Linked DNA regions of Homo sapiens: all the other regions are linked to region 6. Evidence: promoter capture Hi-C in 16 types of primary human blood cells and fetal thymus (Javierre and others, 2016). All regions are on one chromosome and are shown on one strand. The core of a region is centred on a gene start or on the middle of the fragment in contact, and the rest is flanking DNA. Distances in the headings are between cores, read along the strand shown. Region 1 overlaps LINC01600 (long intergenic non-protein coding RNA 1600). Region 2 overlaps MYLK4 (myosin light chain kinase family member 4). Region 3 overlaps MYLK4 (myosin light chain kinase family member 4). Region 4 holds the start of LINC01011 (long intergenic non-protein coding RNA 1011). Region 5 has its middle 7.8 kb from the start of LINC01600. Region 6 holds the start of FOXC1 (forkhead box C1). Region 7 holds the start of SERPINB1 (serpin family B member 1).

The links. Contacts are between HindIII fragments. The CHiCAGO score rates a contact against its expected background, and 5 or more counts as called.
Region 1: a fragment that was not itself captured here is called in contact with the fragment with the promoter of FOXC1 in region 6 in 9 of 17 cell types (naive CD4 T cells, neutrophils, total CD4 T cells and 6 more); the score reaches 15.1 in naive CD4 T cells.
Region 2: a fragment that was not itself captured here is called in contact with the fragment with the promoter of FOXC1 in region 6 in 1 of 17 cell types (total B cells); the score reaches 5.0 in total B cells.
Region 3: a fragment that was not itself captured here is called in contact with the fragment with the promoter of FOXC1 in region 6 in 1 of 17 cell types (M0 macrophages); the score reaches 6.1 in M0 macrophages.
Region 4: the fragment with the promoter of LINC01011 here is called in contact with the fragment with the promoter of FOXC1 in region 6 in 1 of 17 cell types (neutrophils); the score reaches 8.4 in neutrophils.
Region 5: a fragment that was not itself captured here is called in contact with the fragment with the promoter of FOXC1 in region 6 in 13 of 17 cell types (total CD4 T cells, non-activated CD4 T cells, naive CD4 T cells and 10 more); the score reaches 18.8 in total CD4 T cells.
Region 7: the fragment with the promoter of SERPINB1 here is called in contact with the fragment with the promoter of FOXC1 in region 6 in 1 of 17 cell types (neutrophils); the score reaches 7.3 in neutrophils.

The regions. Positions count from the first base shown.
Region 1 is chr6:2,623,979-2,626,678 of GRCh38, forward strand. It overlaps LINC01600 (long intergenic non-protein coding RNA 1600), which reads right to left. Exons shown (of 3, transcript NR_131168.1): 3 at 1-141. Among named protein-coding and RNA genes, the nearest start is that of LINC02521, 9.2 kb to the right of the region's middle. The HindIII fragment of the contact is 3,963 bases long and covers 1-2,700 here.
Region 2 is chr6:2,727,687-2,730,386 of GRCh38, forward strand. The region is part of intron 2 of MYLK4 (myosin light chain kinase family member 4); the gene reads right to left. Among named protein-coding and RNA genes, the nearest start is that of MYLK4, 22 kb to the right of the region's middle. The HindIII fragment of the contact is 6,464 bases long and covers 1-2,700 here.
Region 3 is chr6:2,671,528-2,674,227 of GRCh38, forward strand. All of the region lies in intron 11 of MYLK4 (myosin light chain kinase family member 4), which reads right to left. Among named protein-coding and RNA genes, the nearest start is that of LINC01600, 38 kb to the left of the region's middle. The HindIII fragment of the contact is 710 bases long and covers 968-1,677 here.
Region 4 is chr6:2,986,653-2,989,370 of GRCh38, forward strand. It overlaps LINC01011 (long intergenic non-protein coding RNA 1011), which reads left to right and starts at 1,315. Exons shown (of 3, transcript NR_026856.1): 1 at 1,315-1,379. NQO2-AS1 (NQO2 antisense RNA 1) reads right to left here. Exons shown (of 2, transcript NR_186367.1): 2 at 2,684-2,718. RefSeq lists enhancers at 1,257-2,066, 2,067-2,718 and a silencer at 2,260-2,679. The HindIII fragment of the contact is 2,996 bases long and covers 736-2,718 here.
Region 5 is chr6:2,641,069-2,643,768 of GRCh38, forward strand. No RefSeq gene overlaps it. Among named protein-coding and RNA genes, the nearest start is that of LINC01600, 7.8 kb to the left of the region's middle. The HindIII fragment of the contact is 314 bases long and covers 1,229-1,542 here.
Region 6 is chr6:1,608,591-1,611,290 of GRCh38, forward strand. It overlaps FOXC1 (forkhead box C1), which reads left to right and starts at 1,325. Exons shown (of 1, transcript NM_001453.3): 1 at 1,325-2,700. The coding sequence starts at 1,856. RefSeq lists a silencer at 1,133-1,752 and an enhancer at 2,083-2,182. The HindIII fragment of the contact is 8,300 bases long and covers 1-2,700 here.
Region 7 is chr6:2,840,606-2,843,305 of GRCh38, forward strand. SERPINB1 (serpin family B member 1) reads right to left here and starts at 1,258. Exons shown (of 7, transcript NM_030666.4): 1 at 1,207-1,258. RefSeq lists a silencer at 1,153-1,202. The HindIII fragment of the contact is 1,424 bases long and covers 63-1,486 here.

The sequences.
Region 1 (2,700 bases), core at 198-2,697, 1.0 Mb after region 6:
TATAGTATCTTATCAAAGGCATGGCTGAAAACCTTGCATCTGTCAGCTTTTATAAGTCTTCATGGGCTGTTGGGGGGATAGATTCCACATCCCTCCCGGGAGTTGTAAGCCACTGTAGGCCGTTCCTCAGAGGCAACTTCCCTGCAGAAAAGGGAGACAGAGGCAGAGCGTGGGTCAGAGCCACACGCCCGTGCTCGGGCGCTTTACATTGATTTCATGTCTGCCCTAGACAGCAGATTCGTCTCTGGATTTTACTGACGAGCAGACGAGTGCTCAGAGAATTTAAAGTCAGACAGTGAACGACTAGCGTTGCTGGGAGCCCAGCCTTAGGAGGGCTCAGGCCTCTGTGCTGGCTACTCCTGGAGAGTTGAATTTCCCAGAACAAGGGCAGCGTGGGGGCGGGAGGGAGAGCGGAAGGGATCCAAGGGACATGGGTGCTTTGTGAATGAAGTCAAGTCACACAGTGCATTCGTCCAATATTCTAAGACTTCCTTTTGAGAAATGGAATATTTTGTTATGCGTAGTGCTGGCCTGTGTGCGATAAAATTAAAAGGGAAATCTGGGCTTTTGGTTATTTTTCCAGAAATGGCCATTCTGGGATTCTCAGGACCTAAATCAAACTGGGCCTTCCCTCAGAGAAAGCAAAGGCCTCAGAGATGCTGGTGGCTGATGCAGCTCCCCAGTGCCACCCCACGGCTCCCCATGACCCAATCCAATCCCACCAATGCCCACAGTCCGGAGGCAAGAAGCAGGACACTTTATCCCCTTTGATGCAAGTGAAAAATGAGGTTCAGAGGGGTTAGCAGATTTCCCCCAGTAGCGGGATTTCATCCCAAGTTTCCTGACCACAGGTTTCTACTCTAGCATGGTGCACTGAGAACGGGCCACGTGTTCATCTTGAGGGCCTGAGAGAGGGCTTGTTGTTGAATGGGGAATCTGGGATCCTCTGAGTCTCTGTCCCAGGACTGAAGGATCCAAATTTTCTTTCCTGTTCCTGAGAGAAGAGCCCAGTGCAGCTCCCCAAGCCTGCCAGATGGGCCTAGACATAGGGCTGGGAGATCCAAAGAGCCCTGTGACATTGAATACCTCCAACAAGGTGAACACGATGCATTCATGTTTCTGCAGAAGTGAAAACTCACCCTTGGAGCTGCCCAGGAAGCAAATGCAGTGGCTTTTTCCCCCTGGAAAATCGACCCATGTTGAAGTTTGCCATACAATGAGTATAGCAGCATGCTGCCATTCATTTAATTAAAAATAGCAAAAATGCACCGGGCTCTCAATCATCTATGTTCCCAACAAGAAACTGCGCTGAGACAATCTTCAAAATGGCACATCCCTCACCGCCGAGATTATCTCTATTCCTGAACATGAATGGCAAAGAAAAGAAGCCAAGGCCAGAAGGAAAAGGGAAACCCTTCAGACCACACAGGTGTGTTTCTGTTTCGTCCTCTTTCACAGGGAAGTTCGTACAAAAACAAACAGCACATAAAAATACAACCTCAAGACTTGTATGTTTGTTCCAGCTCTGTCCCGATTTGCATTCCTGTTTTGATTCGTCTTTGCAACATCCTGGGCCTATGATAGTGATTTTTCTTTTCTTCCTAGCAGATTTTCTACTCTTTTGAAGTTAGGAAATGTCCATGGTTTCTTTCAAGCATCTTTGGGTGAGATTTTTTTTCTTTTTTCTTTTTTTTTAAGAGTCAGAGCAGGAAAAGGCCATTCAGCTTATCTTGTCCACTTCCTGAAATCCAAACAAACTCTCAGAAAACTGCCTCACACCCTATCCATTTAGCATATGTCTCAGTACTTGGACAGGAGATTTCAGAGCCATTTCGACTTTATAAAAACTTTTGGAACTGGTTTGAATAGCCTCCAAAGACTTTGAGAAATAACTTAGAAAGTTTGAGACTAAAATTGGTGTGGTTAGTTCCCTCCTAAGGAAATGATTCAGAAAAAAATCCTTTCTTTTCTCAGAGAATTCCATCCAAGTTGGCTGCCCAAAACTTCCCAGCAAACTGATGGCTGATATTTTCAAACTCTTGTCCAAATTCTATTTACCCGTTGAGTGGAAGATCTCGGCCTATTCTTAGAGCTTCCTTTACCCTAACTGAAAAATGGGTTGCGTGATTTGCATGTGATAAAAATGAAGGCTCTTAAAGGAATCTATAATACTTGCCCGCATCAAGTAAAATGTAGCTTAGACTCATTTACAGAATATTAGCGTTCTCACTACGCAAAACAAACAAAAAAGGTAAGAATTTCAGCGCAAACTTCCCCACCAAAATAGTCAAAGCTATCTATCTTAAAAAGCAGTTACCAGAAAGCAGGTGATCTGTACAAACCAACTAATTTTCCAAACACAGTACCATCTCTTGGTGAATACTCAGTGCCTCTCCTAACAGATTTTTTTCCCATTCCAATGTGGAAAAGCAAAAATGTCCAGGAAAGCATATTGCTAACGACTAGGGAGCAGGAAACAGACAATGACGAATTTTCTCATTCGACAGACGGTCTTAGACCATACCTGCTGTGGTCTTGGGAACATGACAAACTGTGGGTTTGTGTGAGTAAGTTCTCAAAGCCACTGCCATTCTGATAAAATTAACTCAAATGGCCATGTTGCTGAATCAACGCGGTTACTCTAGAGGCCTGTGAGGGTTGTGTCCAGTGCTTGCCACCAGGAATCTGTTCGTTGTTATC
Region 2 (2,700 bases), core at 8-2,507, 1.1 Mb after region 6:
GCCTGTAATCCCAGCACTTTGGGAGGCCGAGGTGGGCGGATCACGAGGTCAAGAGATAGAGACCATCCTGGCCAATGTGGTAAAACCCCGTTTCTACTAAAAAGACAAAAATTAGCTGGGTGTGGTGGCGCATGCCTGTAATCCCAACTACTCAGGAGGCTGAGGCAGGAGAATCGCTTGAACCCGGGAGGCAGAGGTTGCAGTGAGCCGAGATCACGCCACTGCGCTCCAGCCTGGGCGACTGAGCAGGACTCCGTCTCAAAAAAAAAAAAAAAAAAAAATGCTATCATTTACTTAGGGCTTACAGTAGCCCTGGTATAGCCCTTATTTAATGCTCACCTCAACCTTGTATGGGCTCCATTTTCCCCCATTCTACACACAATTAAACTGAGGCACGGAAAGGATAAGTAATGAGTACAAGGTCACTGAGGCAGTAGGTAGCAGAGCTGATATCTCTATTTTTAAAAGTGATCCAGGTACCACAGTTTGAAAAACAAAGGTCCCAACAAATGGCATCAGACATTGGGCAGCAAATACTGCTGCAGGACTTTGTATATGTTTCTCCTTATTTGTCTTTAGGTGTTTTTCGTATGTAAGACACAGGCAGTGCAGGGGAACCTTACTGTTTTCTACAGAATGAGAGGGGTCTGAGTCCCCGTCTCTCTGAAGAAACCACTTTTGTGTCTTTTATTTAACTCATCATGTATTGTCTGAAGAGTTTTATTAAAAAAAACAAAACAGTCTGATGATGCCCAGCCCTGGAGAGGTGGGAGCTCCTTTGCCAGGATCTCTGTGTCCCGCAGCCGACCTGCCTTGGCATCCTCATCTCCTGCCACTTCCTGTTTTACCCCATGTGCTTGCTGGTCCCTGAATTCTCTTCCATCTGTCTTTCCTCATCCTCCTGGCCCCAGTGGCTCCCCAGCCATGCCCAGAGAGGTTGGCACTCCAGCTGAGGCTGCAGCTGGGAGGCCCGTGGAGGCCACAGAATGTGTTTTCCTTCTGTCCTTCTGTCCTAGTTATCACAGTGACCAAAATTTCACCAACCTGGAAACCAAGCACATTTACATCTGCTTTGACTTGATCTGTCAAACCAATCTGTCAAGCACCCACCTCCCAATAACAGGGTCCCTGGCATCTCTTTCTTCTTCCATCCACACCCACCCCAAGAAGCTATCTCTGCTGCTGACCTCAGAGGAAAGAGAGCTGAGAATCTCCACGGTGGATGGCAGATCCTGGCTTTCTGTGTCTCTGCCTTCTGTTGCTACCTCCCCATTTTGCTATCATAGGGCTTGGCAATAGAATGGAGTCTTTGCTGGTTGCTATGTGTACACACATGCCATGGTTCAAGGAGATACCCACTCCCTCCTGGCTCACTGTCCACCAACTGTGCTCACGCTTGGGATCCCAAGGTTCCAGCTCTTTAGCTCACACTCCTGCAAAGCCACAGTTATGACACACACTTCATGTGCCAGCCCCACTTACAGGCCATGCCCCTATTATCATGCAAATAAAAATACAGGATATGCAGCAAATTTCAAAGACTCCATTCTATTGCTCAGCTATAGTGCCAACCTCTCTGGGCATGGCTGGGGAGCCACTGGGGCCAGGAGGATGAGGAAAGACAGATGGAAGAGAATTCAGGGACCAGCAAGCACATGGGGTAAAACAGGAAGTGGCAGGAGACGAGGATGCCAAGGCAGGTCGGCTGTGGGACACAGAGATCGTGGCAAAGGAGCTCGCACCTCTCCAGATACGCAACAAATAACTTTGGTTTGTGTACTGATTATTACAAACTTATACTAAACACGATCCACCATTATCTGATATTCCAGTTTCACCAAGGGGCCCTGTATTTTTTCCCTTAGTTCCCCAACCCTAAACCCTGCCTGCCGCAGGGGGCCAGGCTCCCTCAAGGAGTGTTTCTCTTCTGCCTCTCAGGATGCTTTCCAGACTGGACTTTAGTGGATCAGATGTGTTTTAGTGACTTTGAACCTCACTGGGGAGGGGGTGAAGGCCTCATGCTGTTTCTCTCAAGGAGGCATTTTTCAGCATTTACCCACCAAGACCATTGGGAGAGAAGTTTCTGACAACCTACAAAGAACCCTGTTAGGACCTATATGAAGGCAGTGGCTTCTGTGATCTTTTTTCATTTATATAAGCAAGAAGGGTGGCTGGAGCAATCCCTCCCAGCTGGGCCACTGGGCCGAAAGCAACTTCTTCCCTCCATCCAGACAGAAACACAGTTGGCGGTCTTCAAACGCTGGATTTTCTCCCTAAAGCACATCGCCTTACTGAAAAACTCACTATACTTCCTTTAAAACTTCATGATCTGGGGTCTTTCAGATAAAATGTCAGTGGTTCGACAATAATGAATGGACAGGTAGCTAAGAACAGCGTGCTGGGGAAGCGTTCCGCAGGCCATCTGCCTGCAGCATGTAGTTCACACCCTCCATGGAGCTGCCCTTTGGGGAGGTGAGGGGCTGAAAGCAAGCGTGTGCTCCCTTGGCCAAACCCAAGGAGGGGAAGCGCTGTCAGCTGGCCAAGATGTGAGCCAACAGGGCACGTAGAAGGATATCCCTCCCAATCTACTGCCCCCAAGGGAGCCCCTCTTTTAATTTTGTGCCTGCTGGCTTGGAGTGATACATTATTCTTGGAGAATTGTCCAGCATAGCGGGAGGAAGGATGCAGAAACAGGGGCAA
Region 3 (2,700 bases), core at 73-2,572, 1.1 Mb after region 6:
ATCTCAGAGTCCACTCTCCCCTGAGGCCCCTGTCACACGACCCTTCCTTCTCACTTAGAGTCAGGGCCAAACAGCTCAGCACCTCATCACACTCAGGTATGTTTTGCAAAAACTCACGCGTGTATAGCACAAGAATGCTCTATCACTTGCGATACTGGGGCTACGATGACTGCAAAGATGAGTCAGACACAGAAATGGCTTCTTCCAAAAGTTTTCAAATTGAGTAGACAACGGTAATGTGAATTCCACAAAGAGATTCAAGAAGACAGAGAAAGAGTCTCCAGTTTGAGGATTGGAAAAGCTGGGGCATTTAATACAGGCCTTAGACAAGTACTGACTTGTGGGCTGCTCTAGAGGCAGCAGTGAAGACGAGACTCAAAAGAAGAGCTGGGGGTGTCCTGGAGCAGGCCCTGACTGCAACCGGGTTGGGTCTAGTGTGGACAATGGGAAACGCGTGAAGATTTTTTCAGTCAAGGTCTGAGCTGTAATTAAGGAACTAATGATTTGATAGATTAGGGAAGAGGGTGAGTAGAGGTTGGATATCAGCTCATGGGTTGTTTTATTAGTTCACTGAGAGGGCATGAGCCGAGGTCACAACACTGAGAATGGGAAGGAAGGGTCAGAGGCTTCTTAGCTCTGGGGGAAAGAAAACATGTCAAATTTGTGTCGTGTTCCTTCCTCTGGCCCCAGAACCCTGGCTAATTCTGCAGTAGGTGCTGAGTTCTAGTAGATTCCTAATTTGGGAGTGCTTTGCCCCACCCCAGCTGAGAGCTGCTTCTGATGGAAACAGGTTATACACAGAGGGTTGGGGACGTAAGAAAGGCTGCAAACCATCGCATGTCACCTTGAGCATAATACAGAGGGCAGAGAACTCTCGGATGTTAACTTCTAAGAAAAAAAAATCCTTCTTAAATTTAGTGACAGTCAATATGCTACTCAAGTGGTTACAAAATAGTAAGTGCTTTTAAGCTTGAAGCAAAAGAGACAAATAAAAATATACGAAAGACTCAAAAATAGAATTTAGATTGAAATGGTAAACAGTTTTGGATCAGAATTAAATTTTCAACTTAAAAGTAAATTCTGATTTTGTAGAACCAATATTAATCTAAAAATAAGCCTTCTGGAAAACTTTCGTCTCAATATTTCCTTGAAAAGTAAGATATACTAAGTTTGAATATTGATTTTCAGTAACACTAAAACTGTATGGTACAAGAAAGGCTCTGGAAGCATCGCTCAGGTCCCCTGTACCCAGCAGCCCATCACCGGCAGGAGAGCAGAGCAGTGAGGCTCTGCCCGGACTCCAGAGCTCAGCCCTGTCCTGAGTGTTCTCAGCTACAGACACTAATGTGCCCATTTTGTGCGTTGCTATGAGGAGTCAGTGAGTTATTTTTTGTAAAGCAGTTAGAAGAGTACCTCCACAATACTGTATAATTATAGCTGTAATAACTAGATTTATAAAATGAAATTTATTTTTCATTAAAAAAAACCCATCATCACTCTTGAACTATCTATTCACCTCAGGTACCAGCAGATGGATGGATACAAAAGGTGATTTTACTTGTTGTTATATGGTTTAAAAAATATTCTTAAACACTTTTTAAACTGTACAATGTCATTAATTATCTGCTGTGGTTTCTATACTATCCTGCCATGTCAAAGTGTATTTGGACACCAATAAGCTTGGATAAAAATACATCGGTGGAAAATTGGCTCAAAATAGGTTAGTAACCCTAATAAGCAGTTTATGTAGTCTGGGTGAGGTACCCACTAGGTAATAAGTCTATTTTTACTTGACATCAGTACCAATTATCAAGGAAAGGTATATTCAGACACAAATAAAACTTAGTGCCGATGCTGAATTTAGAAGTAAAGTTAATTTCAATAAAAACTGGATGTGGAAAAAGTGAGTACCTAAGGCATAGTCATTCCAAGGTTTGTTGGTCAGTGAAAAAGTTCCATTCCAAAACCTCAGGAAATGGAGAGGATGAGGAGCAAAGGTGGAAGAAACAAAAACGTATCAAACCCATGCTATACCAGGGCAGGGCACCAGCCACCCTAACTGATAGGTACATCAGACAGGTCCTGGTGGGCCCAAAGGTTGGCATGGCGTCTTGCCTGTATATGCATCTTGCCAGTTGAACATCCTAGATGTTCAGTAAAGTTACTTGGGCATTACACATCTGTTTCTGTGTTAATTATATAATCCACAATTATTTGGATGGAGACAACATGAAGGAGGCAGAGAAGCCAGTTAGGAGGCTGCAGTCACTCAGGGGAGGCATGTCCCAGGCCACGGTCACCATGGGAATGGAGAGAAACAGACAGCTTCCAGAGGTAATTAGGGGATATCATGTACACAACATGGAGGTAAATTAAACATGAGATGGGGGCTCGAGGGAGAGGAAGGAAGCAAAGAAGATGTACGGGGGCTGGCTGGGGCCGCTCCATGGGCATCCTTCCCTAAGAGGATCACTGATGGTGAGGCAAGGGGCAGGGAGATGAGATTAGTTTAGGGATGGGAAGATCCTGGTGGAAACATCTAGTACACAGATGGACATATGGATCTGCAGCTTAGGAAAGATATCTGTGCCAAAGAGACAGATGAGGAAGTCGGAATATAAACATCTGGTAATTAAGGCAATGAGAGTAGGTGAAGATTTCATTGTAAGAAGTTATTACAGAGAGTGGGCTAGGTTATTC
Region 4 (2,718 bases), core at 65-2,564, 1.4 Mb after region 6:
AGTGAAATCTGATGTGATATGTGCTTTAGTGGTGCCAAGGATAAAAGGATAAGTGTTAAGAAAAAGTAGCAACAATATGTCTGACTGGGAGAATCAAGAAAGGTGTCATAGAGTCCCTAACACTTGAGCTGAGAATGAGAAAGAGCATGAGCTGGCCAGGTGACACACAGAGCATATTCCAACCTAGGAGACTGGGAAATGGGCCAAAATATATACGTTTGAGGAAACAAATAGCTTACTATATAATTAAATATGAGGCAGTTTAGACTGGGCCCTTATGGATAAGTCACACCCATAAATTTTATTTCATCTTACAGGCAGTGGAGAGCCTCTGGAGGATTCTGAGCTTCGTGGTCTCATCATCAGAGTTATGTATGGCAACCATCCCAACCTTTTTGGCACCAGGGAGGGGTTTTGTGGAAAACTATTTTTCCTTGGACAGCAGAGGATGGTTTCGGGATGATTCAAGCACATGACACTTCTTGTGCACTTTATTTTCAGTGGGAGCCCTGAGCTTGTTTTCCTGCAACTATCTGGCCCCATGTGGGGGTGATGAAGACAACGGCAGATTATCAGGCATTAGATTCTCATAAGGAGCGCACATCCTAGATCCCTTATGTGTGCAGTTCACAGTAGGGTTTGTGCTCCTATAAGAATCTAATGCTGCCTGATCTGATAGGAGGCAGAGCTCTGGTGGTAATGCAAGCAATGGGGAGCAGCTGCACATACAGATAAAGCTTCACTAGCTCACCCACTGGTGGCTCACCTCTTGCTGTGTGTCCTGGTTCCTAACAGGCTACAGACCAGTCAGGTCTGTGGCCCGGGGGTTGGGAACTCCTGGTGTATGGAAGAGACTACTCTGCAGCAATGTGGACAAATAGGATGAGGGTGAGCTGTCAGGGGAGACAGGCACACATGGCAGAGCTATTTAAAAAGGAGGATAGATGACCAGGCACAGTGGCTCATGCCAGTAATCCCAGCACTTTGGGAGGCAGAGGCAGGCGGATCACGAGGTCAGCAGTTCAAGACCAGCCTGGCCAACATGGCAAAACCTCATCTCTGCTAAAAATACAAAAATTAGCTGGGCGTGGTGACATGCGCCTGTAATCCCAGCTACTCAGGAGGCTGAGGCAGGAGAATCACTTGAACCCGGGAGGCAAAGATTGCAGTGAGCCGAGATCGTGCCATTGCACTCTAGCCTGGGCAACACAGCAAGACTCTGACTGGAAAAAAAAAAAAAAAAAAAGGAGGATAGACAGGGCTTGGGGATTGGTGGATGGGTAGATAAGGAAGGAGGAGTCTAGCATGACTCTCAGACTACTGACTTGGACCAGCAGGGGAATGGCTGTGACAATAAATAAGATTGGGAAAACAAGAAGGTGAGCAAATTTAGAGGAGAAAATGAATTTCATTTTTGGCATGGTGTGGAAGGCTCGGGAGAGAGGTCTAGGCACCAGATGTCAACGTGAGGTGAAATGGATATAGCTGAAGTCAAGGGTGTGGTGAGGTTTTGCAGGGAGAGCAGGGACCTCCAGCAAGGCCAGTGCATAAGGGAGAATAGAGAAAAAAAGAACCAGAAAAAGACAAGGAGAGGCCAGAGAGGTGTGGAAAGAACCAGGGAAGACAGTTATTCACAACAAACAAAAGAGGGCAGAGTTTTAGAGAAGGAACTGAGCAGTTTGGGGCTCCAGGTGGGGCAGGAGTGGGTGGCCACGGTTGAGGGGCAGTGGCCTTCAAATTGGTCTGGGTAGGTTCTAATGGGTCAGATTGGTCAGTCCTTTCCAGGACACTGAAGGCTGCAGAGGTGTGACTGGATGCTGGTGGAGGGATGCATGGCGGGGAAGCTGAGTCAGATCCTGAAATCCTCCAAGCATGCGCCTGAAATGACCAAGGGAAATGAAGGCGGAGGCTGCTGTCGCCTGGTGGCCTGGGAAGGGCCAAGAGCCAGGGAGCTGGAGGGAGGAGAGAACGTGCGACCTCAGCACGGAGCACTGTAGGGGAGGCGGGGCTGGAGGGAGATGGCGCCGCGCTCCCGGATGAACAGAGAAAGCGACAGGGTGAGTCGCAGGGCACAGTGTGGGATGAGTCACCGACAGCAAGGCATGGACTCCGGGAAGAAGGGGAGACGAGCCGGGAAAGACTTGCATCGGGGATGTGAGCTGAGCTGCACCCAGACAAAAGCGGCTCGGGGCTCCTGAAAGCAGCAGGCACCGCCGGTCCTGCCAAGGGGCTACTTCCTGCGCGGAGTAGGAGAGTAGGAGACCCCAGGCCAGTCCCAATCCCCGGCCCGTCCGGGATGAGGGGGGCTGCGGGAGCTGCGGGGGCCTCCTCCAGGGAGGACGGTTGCAGGGTCCCTCGGCCGCCGCCCACTCCCGGGGGCGTTCCTTCCTCCCAGCTGCGCCCGGAGCGCCTGCTGCCTGGCGAGAGCCCGCCCCTCTGCAACCAGCCCGCTGCAGCGGAGGGCGCCTGGGTGCCCTCGGCCGAGCCAGCAGCCCACGGTCGGCGCCGCACTGTCCCCTGGTGGCGGAGCGCTCCCGCGACCCGGCTCGCCACGCCTGGGAGGGGTCCAGGAGGACGCGGCTGGGACCTGGGGGCTCTCAGGGTGGGGCCTTGGGGGATGAGGCTGGGGCCCGCGGGAAACCGGGCTGGGGCGAGGAGGCTCGCAGGACTTCCTGCCACAGAATGTTTCGATGCTTTTTTTAATTCTGCAAATGTAAG
Region 5 (2,700 bases), core at 136-2,635, 1.0 Mb after region 6:
TGCAGATAGGGAACAAAAGCAACGAACATTTTAAAAGAAAATAATGGAGCAAAGATTCTTTGACTTTGGGCAGTGACTAGTGGATTTCTGAGAGAGTCGTGATATTTTAGGCAGTTCTAAAGTAAAAGCACAGAATATAACCACAAAGACCTGAAAGCCAAAACCGAGAGGAGAGTCTTCTGAAGCCTTTCCGGCCATCTGGTTTCCTCCTCAACACTCAGTGCCCATGAACTTTCCTCCTCCATCCTCGTTAAGTACTGCTCTCCATGTATGAATGTAGTTAATTCACCCCAAAGAGTAAATCACCACTGAGAACCAAAGTGATATGTTTTCTGGAATGTTCACACATGACCCCTCCTCTCCACACTCATCAATACACATGCACACACCACACACACGCACAAACACACAGATGTAGACCCACGTCCCCACACATGCTTGCACTCATACACACAAGGGTGCACGCACGCATCCACATGTACACCATGCACACATGCATGCACACACACAGACAGGCACACACACACACACACACGCACGCACAAACATGACTAGGACAGCAGGCTGCTCTCCTAATCACCGTGGTATAAATCGCCTCTTTTCTTCAAGTCTCAGAAGGTTAGTTTCCTTTTTGCCTTTTTAAAACCATCTGCTCTTCCCCCTAAATTAGCTATATCCCAGGGCTCATCTCCTATAACTTCTCCTAAAAACAAGTCTATAAGACTTTTTCATTTCAGAGAACTTAAAAAAAAAAAAACAAGGAAATAGACAAGGTGGTAGGAATGACAAGTGTGGGAGAGAACAGAGAGTCAAAAAAGATGGAAATTTCTTTTCCCGTGGTTCCCACACTCCTAATTGCCTTTTCTAGGAGATTAGAAATATTCACCTACCTCTGGCTCCAGTGTGTTTCCTAGTGGCTGGCTGGGAAGCCCAGCAGCTTCAGGTCTTTCATTTCATTCCTGCAGGTAGAACTCACTCCTCACCCCACCCCATTCTCTTCCATTCACTCGTCCCTACATCCTGCAGGATGCGTGTGTCACAAAGGTTCCCTTTTTAGCATCTCTGTTTGCAATGTTAGGCATTTACTCGCACTGGGCTTACAGTTTCTAGTTAAAGGATCAACTCTACCAGGGCAGAAAGCATTTTGGCCATCAACCAAGAGGGGAGGGAGGATTGAGTGACCTGGACCTTTTCCGTGTGCTCCCAGGATAAGGGAGGACAAATGGAAAGCTTCCTTCCTATAAATGCTACATGGGCCAAGATAGTGGAGGGGAATACTTCACAGCAAAGTAACTCTCAACACTTACTAATTAAGCACGTGGCAGTGCCATTTATTAAGTCTGGTAGGAATGGTTAGAGGCTCCACAGCTTAAAAGAAAAAAAGTAGTAATATTGAATAGTTCTATTTATGTCAAACTATGACAACATATTAATGTCAAAATGTGCAGCCAGTCTGTCACCATTTGAGGTTACTAATATGTCTGCAAGGCCCTTTAAGAACAGTTGTTCCCAGCAGTGGAGAACATGTGGCCCAGTCTAGGAAGCTTCAGCCCCAGTTCTGCCAAAAGGAATGCAAGGCAATTGTGCAGCCACTCTGTGCCTCAGATCTTATCTGCAAATTGAGGGGAATAACATCGGCCTTAGGGTCGGTGCATCCCTTAAGAATATTTCAGGGCTGGGCATGGTGGCTCATATCTGTAATCTCAGCACTTTGGGAGGCTGAGGCCAGCGGATGGCTTGAGCCCAGGAGTTCAAGACCAGCCTGGGCAACATGAAATGGCCTCGTCTCTACAAAAAATACACAAATTAGTCAGGTGTGGTGGTGCATGCCTCTAGACCCAGCTGCTAGGGAGGCTGAGGTGAGCGGATTGCTTGATCCCAAGTCAAGGCTGCAGGGAGCCAGGATCATGCCACAGCACTCCATCCTGGGTGACAGAGCAAGACTTGTCTCAAAAAAATAAAAAAAAGAATATTTCAGGATATTGCTTAACAACAATGTTAGCTGAACAGTAAGTGCATGAAAAGGTACTCAACATTAAGCCACACTGAGATAGCGCTATACCCCTACTAGAATGGCTAAAGTTAAAAAATTGAGTATATCATGTGTTAATGAGGAGGAGGGGCAACAGGAACTCTTCTATACTCATGGCAAATTGGCACAACCACTTTGGAAAACTGTGTGGCCATATGTACTTAACCATGACCCAGAAATTCACATCTGGGTATTTACCCAAGAGAAATGACTGCTAAGTTTATGCAAAGACTCAAATGCGAACGTTCATGGCAGCATGATTCAAATAAGCAAGAACTGGAAAGAACCCAGGGGCCCATCAGCTGCTAAATAAATAAAGTCTGGGATATCTATACAATGAAACTACTGAGCAATAGAAAGGAACACAGCATTAACACAAGCCACAGATGAATGGAGCTCAAAACCATTCTGCTCAGTGAAGGAGTCAAACACACAGCATTACATATCACTTGATTCCATTTATATGAAAGTCTAGAAAAGGCAAAGCTATAGTGGCATAAAGGTCCTTAACAGTTGCCAGGGGCTGGGGCCAGGAGAGGGGATCGGCTACACAGGGACTCAAGGAAATTTCTAGGGTGATGAAAATGTTCCAGATCTTGATTGTGGTGATGGCTGCTCTATAAAATAACCAAAACTCACCATACCGGGCACTACAGTGTGTGTTAACT
Region 6 (2,700 bases), core at 75-2,574:
CGCTAAAATGCAGAATCGCCGTGCCGGGGGAGGGAGGCCTGGCTCTTTCCCGCTCCTTCGTTTCTTTCCCTCATTTCTCTTCTTCCTGTCCCATTCCAACCACCCAGCGACGGCGAATCTCAGGCGTGTGCACAACGAGCGGGGGCCCTTCCGTGCGTGTCCCCCCAGAATCCTTGAACCGCCCTCTAGGTGCGACCCTGGACGTTCCCCCAGACACACCCGTTGTCTCTGCGAGCCGGCAGCCCCGCGCATGTGGAGATGGAGACTGGCCTGGGGAAGCGTTAAGCTCTTAGACATATTTATTTGCTTCTTGTCATCACACCTGCTAATGTCACCGAGCCCGCAGCCTGACCCCTCATCTGAGCCGAAACGGGCCTGACGGGATCAGAGGGGGCGGCGGCGCGGCGAGCCGGTGGGACCCTCGCGGGCGGGCAGGGGAGCGCGGGGCAGCAGCCGGGCTCCGGCAGCCCTCGCCGCCCGCACCCTCAGGCCGCCAAGGGCCGGCCCCCCGGGGAGGGGGGCGAGAAGCAGGGCGGCCCGCAGCGGGGCGGGCTCATCCTTCGCGGGTGAACGGCCGTCGGAAACTCCCAGCAGGGCCCCGCACCCCTTGCCTTCATTTCGGCTGGGGAGGGGTCATGGAGGGGGGCCAGATGGGCGACGAACCTTCTTCCCCACCGCGAGCAGGGCCTGGCTGTGACCGAGCCCTCAAAATCATGTCCTTTGTAGCCGAGTTCAGGACAGGAGAACCTCCAAGTGGAGAAAAGCCGGAGACGTCAGTGACCCGAGTGAGACTGGCGTTGGAGAAGGGAGGGAAGGGGCTGCGGGAGGGGAGAGGCGGCGGGGAGGAGAGGCTGGGGCAACCCCAGCGCTGGCGTCGGCGGGGCTGGCGAAGGAATGAGAGCGAGCCAGCACGAGGCGGGGCGGAGACGCCAGGGCCACTCGGGAGCCGTGGGCGAAGGAAGGGTCTGCACGGGGTCCCGGGAGGACCCAGGAAGTCTGCGCGAACGGCGGGCGTGGGTCCGGAGGGCCCGGGGTGGGAGGTCTGCCGGGCGCCGGCGGCAGGCAGGTGGACTGCGGGGGGCGAACCGACGGCGGGCCGGGCGCCGGCGCGGGCGCAGGGCCGGGGCCCGGGCCAGGGCGGCCGGCGCGCGTGTGGTCAGCCCCGCGGTCCTCCGGCCTCCGGGAGCGGGCCGGCAGGGCTCGGCCTCCGGCTCATTCGGAGGCGGTTCTCACCTCCCATTGGCTGCCGCCGCTGGCGGGGCGGGGCTCCGCTGCCCGGAAAAAAGTGTAACTGCGTAAAAAAGTCCTCGCCTGGGTGACGGATGCTCAAAAGTTCAGAAGTTTTCCCAATGCTTCCTTAAGCGGCTGGCGCGCGAGAGACCGAGAAAAGGTGACGCGGGGCCCGGGCAGGCGGCCGGCGCGCGGCCCCCCCCCCCCCCGCCCTGGTTATTTGGCCGCCTTCGCCGGCAGCTCAGGGCAGAGTCTCCTGGAAGGCGCAGGCAGTGTGGCGAGAAGGGCGCCTGCTTGTTCTTTCTTTTTGTCTGCTTTCCCCCGTTTGCGCCTGGAAGCTGCGCCGCGAGTTCCTGCAAGGCGGTCTGCCGCGGCCGGGCCCGGCCTTCTCCCCTCGCAGCGACCCCGCCTCGCGGCCGCGCGGGCCCCGAGGTAGCCCGAGGCGCCGGAGGAGCCAGCCCCAGCGAGCGCCGGGAGAGGCGGCAGCGCAGCCGGACGCACAGCGCAGCGGGCCGGCACCAGCTCGGCCGGGCCCGGACTCGGACTCGGCGGCCGGCGCGGCGCGGCCCGGCCCGAGCGAGGGTGGGGGGCGGCGGGCGGCGCGGGGCGGCGGCGAGCGGGGGCCATGCAGGCGCGCTACTCCGTGTCCAGCCCCAACTCCCTGGGAGTGGTGCCCTACCTCGGCGGCGAGCAGAGCTACTACCGCGCGGCGGCCGCGGCGGCCGGGGGCGGCTACACCGCCATGCCGGCCCCCATGAGCGTGTACTCGCACCCTGCGCACGCCGAGCAGTACCCGGGCGGCATGGCCCGCGCCTACGGGCCCTACACGCCGCAGCCGCAGCCCAAGGACATGGTGAAGCCGCCCTATAGCTACATCGCGCTCATCACCATGGCCATCCAGAACGCCCCGGACAAGAAGATCACCCTGAACGGCATCTACCAGTTCATCATGGACCGCTTCCCCTTCTACCGGGACAACAAGCAGGGCTGGCAGAACAGCATCCGCCACAACCTCTCGCTCAACGAGTGCTTCGTCAAGGTGCCGCGCGACGACAAGAAGCCGGGCAAGGGCAGCTACTGGACGCTGGACCCGGACTCCTACAACATGTTCGAGAACGGCAGCTTCCTGCGGCGGCGGCGGCGCTTCAAGAAGAAGGACGCGGTGAAGGACAAGGAGGAGAAGGACAGGCTGCACCTCAAGGAGCCGCCCCCGCCCGGCCGCCAGCCCCCGCCCGCGCCGCCGGAGCAGGCCGACGGCAACGCGCCCGGTCCGCAGCCGCCGCCCGTGCGCATCCAGGACATCAAGACCGAGAACGGTACGTGCCCCTCGCCGCCCCAGCCCCTGTCCCCGGCCGCCGCCCTGGGCAGCGGCAGCGCCGCCGCGGTGCCCAAGATCGAGAGCCCCGACAGCAGCAGCAGCAGCCTGTCCAGCGGGAGCAGCCCCCCGGGCAGCCTGCCGTCGGCGCGGCC
Region 7 (2,700 bases), core at 8-2,507, 1.2 Mb after region 6:
AACAGGGTCCTCATGGTGCCCACTGCCCACGCCAGCAGATTAGGCAGCACTATTTCTCCAGAAGCTTCCTCAATTTCTGCCAACCGCCCTGAGGCATCCTGGATCTTGTACTTTCTCCCCGCTTTTTTATTCCAGCAGGGCAAGAACACTTTCCCAGGCCCACAAATGTGGGACCATTCTGGCCAAGGACTCAGCAGTTATAGGGGATTTTAGGGCACCCAGGGTGCCCTAAAGGGCTCTGACCTTGCAGACAGGTGAGTCTGGGGGTGGGGCGGGGGTAAGGCAGGCCCCAGCTACCCCAGCTTTAGTGGGGTGGGAGGGCCCACCCAGCCCTGGGTCTTCCCAACCTATGTGTGGGAGCGCACGTGCTTCTGAGCCTTTGATTCAAGTCTCTGATTCATTGGGCAATGAATCCATTGCCTACCTTCACCTGAACTAAGAGCCTTCTATCAGAGACTCAGCTACCTACTATGCATTAAAACTCCAGCAAAGGTATCACTGTAATTATTATAATAATATAATTCTTCCTTATTTTTGAGGTTCAAAAGGTATGAGGTCCAGTGCCCACAGTCTCAGAGCCGGTGTAGGATGTGCCAGTTTGGAAACCCACCACAGTCCAGGGTCTGGCCGTGCAGCGTCCCATCCGCCACCCACTAGCCCATCTCGATCTCCACTCTCAGAGCCCTGATTTCCCCCGAGGACAGGCAAAGAAGAACCGTGCTGGCTGCTCGGCATGTAAGCACAAAGCTGATTTCTCCTTGTTGTGAAATCGTCTCTAGAATCGCACGGGGTTCCTCCTCTCTCTCCCTGCAGCTGCAGATAGGAGCCGCGGCCTGGCCCTGGGCTGCCTGGAAACCGTCACAAACAGCTCTGGGAGGAAGGGAATTCAGGGAGAAGGGACAACATTCTGATCTCAGGTTTCAGTCTTGCCTTCCGCCTGCATCTGTCGTCCTCCCTCCCTCCCTCCCTCGCGGGCTGGCCCGGCCTGTACCCAGGCGGGGGCGGGGGATCAGAGGTCGTCTGTCTCCGTCGGGGCGCCCGGAAGGGATGGGGGCGCGAAGCTGGCGGGGAGGGCGAGCGCAGGGAGCTGCGGGTCTGAGGGGCCTGAGCCTGGGGGGTGGGGGGTGCCGGGCTGGAAGCTGAGCGAGGGAGCCTGGCCTCTCCCCGCGCCCGCCCCCGCGCCACCGCTCCGAGGCCCGGCCTTACCCGACAGGCCGCCGAGGCACGCTCCGGGCTCCGAGCTGGGTGCGAGGTCAGGAAGGAGGCACCGAGGGCCGCTGCTCTTATAGCAGGCGGAAGCGTCACCCGGGCCAGCAGCCGCGGGCGGGGCGGCGGCCCTTCCCGGTGACTGCGTAGGAGTCCGAGCTCCCGAGGTCGCCTAAGTGCAAGCAGAAGTGAGCGTGGCTTCCGGGCAGCGCCCTCCTCAGGGGCGCGGCTTCTTTCTCAGTTCAAAGCCTTTCCCCGAATCTCTGGCAAGGACCTGAAAAGCTTTTTCTTACTAAGGTGTGAATGACTGAGACGACATATTGTGACACCTCTTAGAGGGCAAATGACTCCCTTTGAGTCCCATCTATATTGGGAGCTTTCTTTGAGAGAAGGAAGCAAATTTGGGGATCTTGCACAGGGAAAAAGAGGGGCCCCCAGAATCAGATGAAACAGAACCAGTTCCAAACACCTGCTCTCTGTTTCCAAGATGACAGCTTGCTGCTGCGTCCTCAATGGTGGAAAGTGGAAGGGCAAAAGGGGCCAAATCTCATGTGAAGTCTCTCGTATAAGGGGCCAATCCCATTCATGAGGAAGGTGCCCTCATAATCCAGTCACCTCCTAAAGGCACCACCTGTTAGTATTGCATTGAGGATTGTTTCAGCATGAATTTTGCAGGGAACACAGACATTCAAAGCATAGCATTCTGCCCCTGCCCTCCAAATTCATACCCCTCTCACATGCAAAATGCATGCATTGTATCCCAGTGGCCTCCAAAGTTCCAGTATCAACTTTAAAATGTAAGTCCAAAGTCTCACCTAAATATCTTCTAAATTAGAAAGGCATAAGATTCAAAGTACAATTCATCCTAAGTGAAATTCCCCTCCAGCTATGAGCCCGTGAAATCAAATAGGTTACAGGCCTTCAAAATACAGTGATGAGACAGGCATAGGACGTACATTCCCATTCCCAAAGGGAGAAGCAGGCAAGAAGAAAGGAGTATCTGGTCCCAAGTAAGTCCAAACCCAACAAGGCAAACAGCATTAAATCTTGGGGCTTCAGAATAATCTTCTTTGATGCTGTGTCCCCCATTCCGAGCACAGGGGGGTGGAGACTGGGTCCCCTAGTGTCCAGGGGATCCACTCCCATGGATTTGCCAGGTGCAACCCATGCAGCAGCTCTCACAGGTTGAGGTCTAGGCTCTCCCAGGATAGACTTGCATGCTGGTGGCTGGACAGTTCTGGGTTCTCAGGGACAGCCCTGTTCCCACAGCTCCACTAGATATTACTCTATTTGGGGCTCTCTGCAGTGGCCCCAATCCCACTGCTCCACTAAACATTGCCCTAGTGAGGGTTTTCTGCAGCAGCCTCACCTCAGTGACAATTCTCAGACTGGGCCCCCAGGGTCCCCAACACATCCTTCAAAATCTAGGTGGAGGTGGCTGTGTCTCCACAGTTCATGCACTCTGTGCACCTGCAGAGTTAGCATCACGTGGAC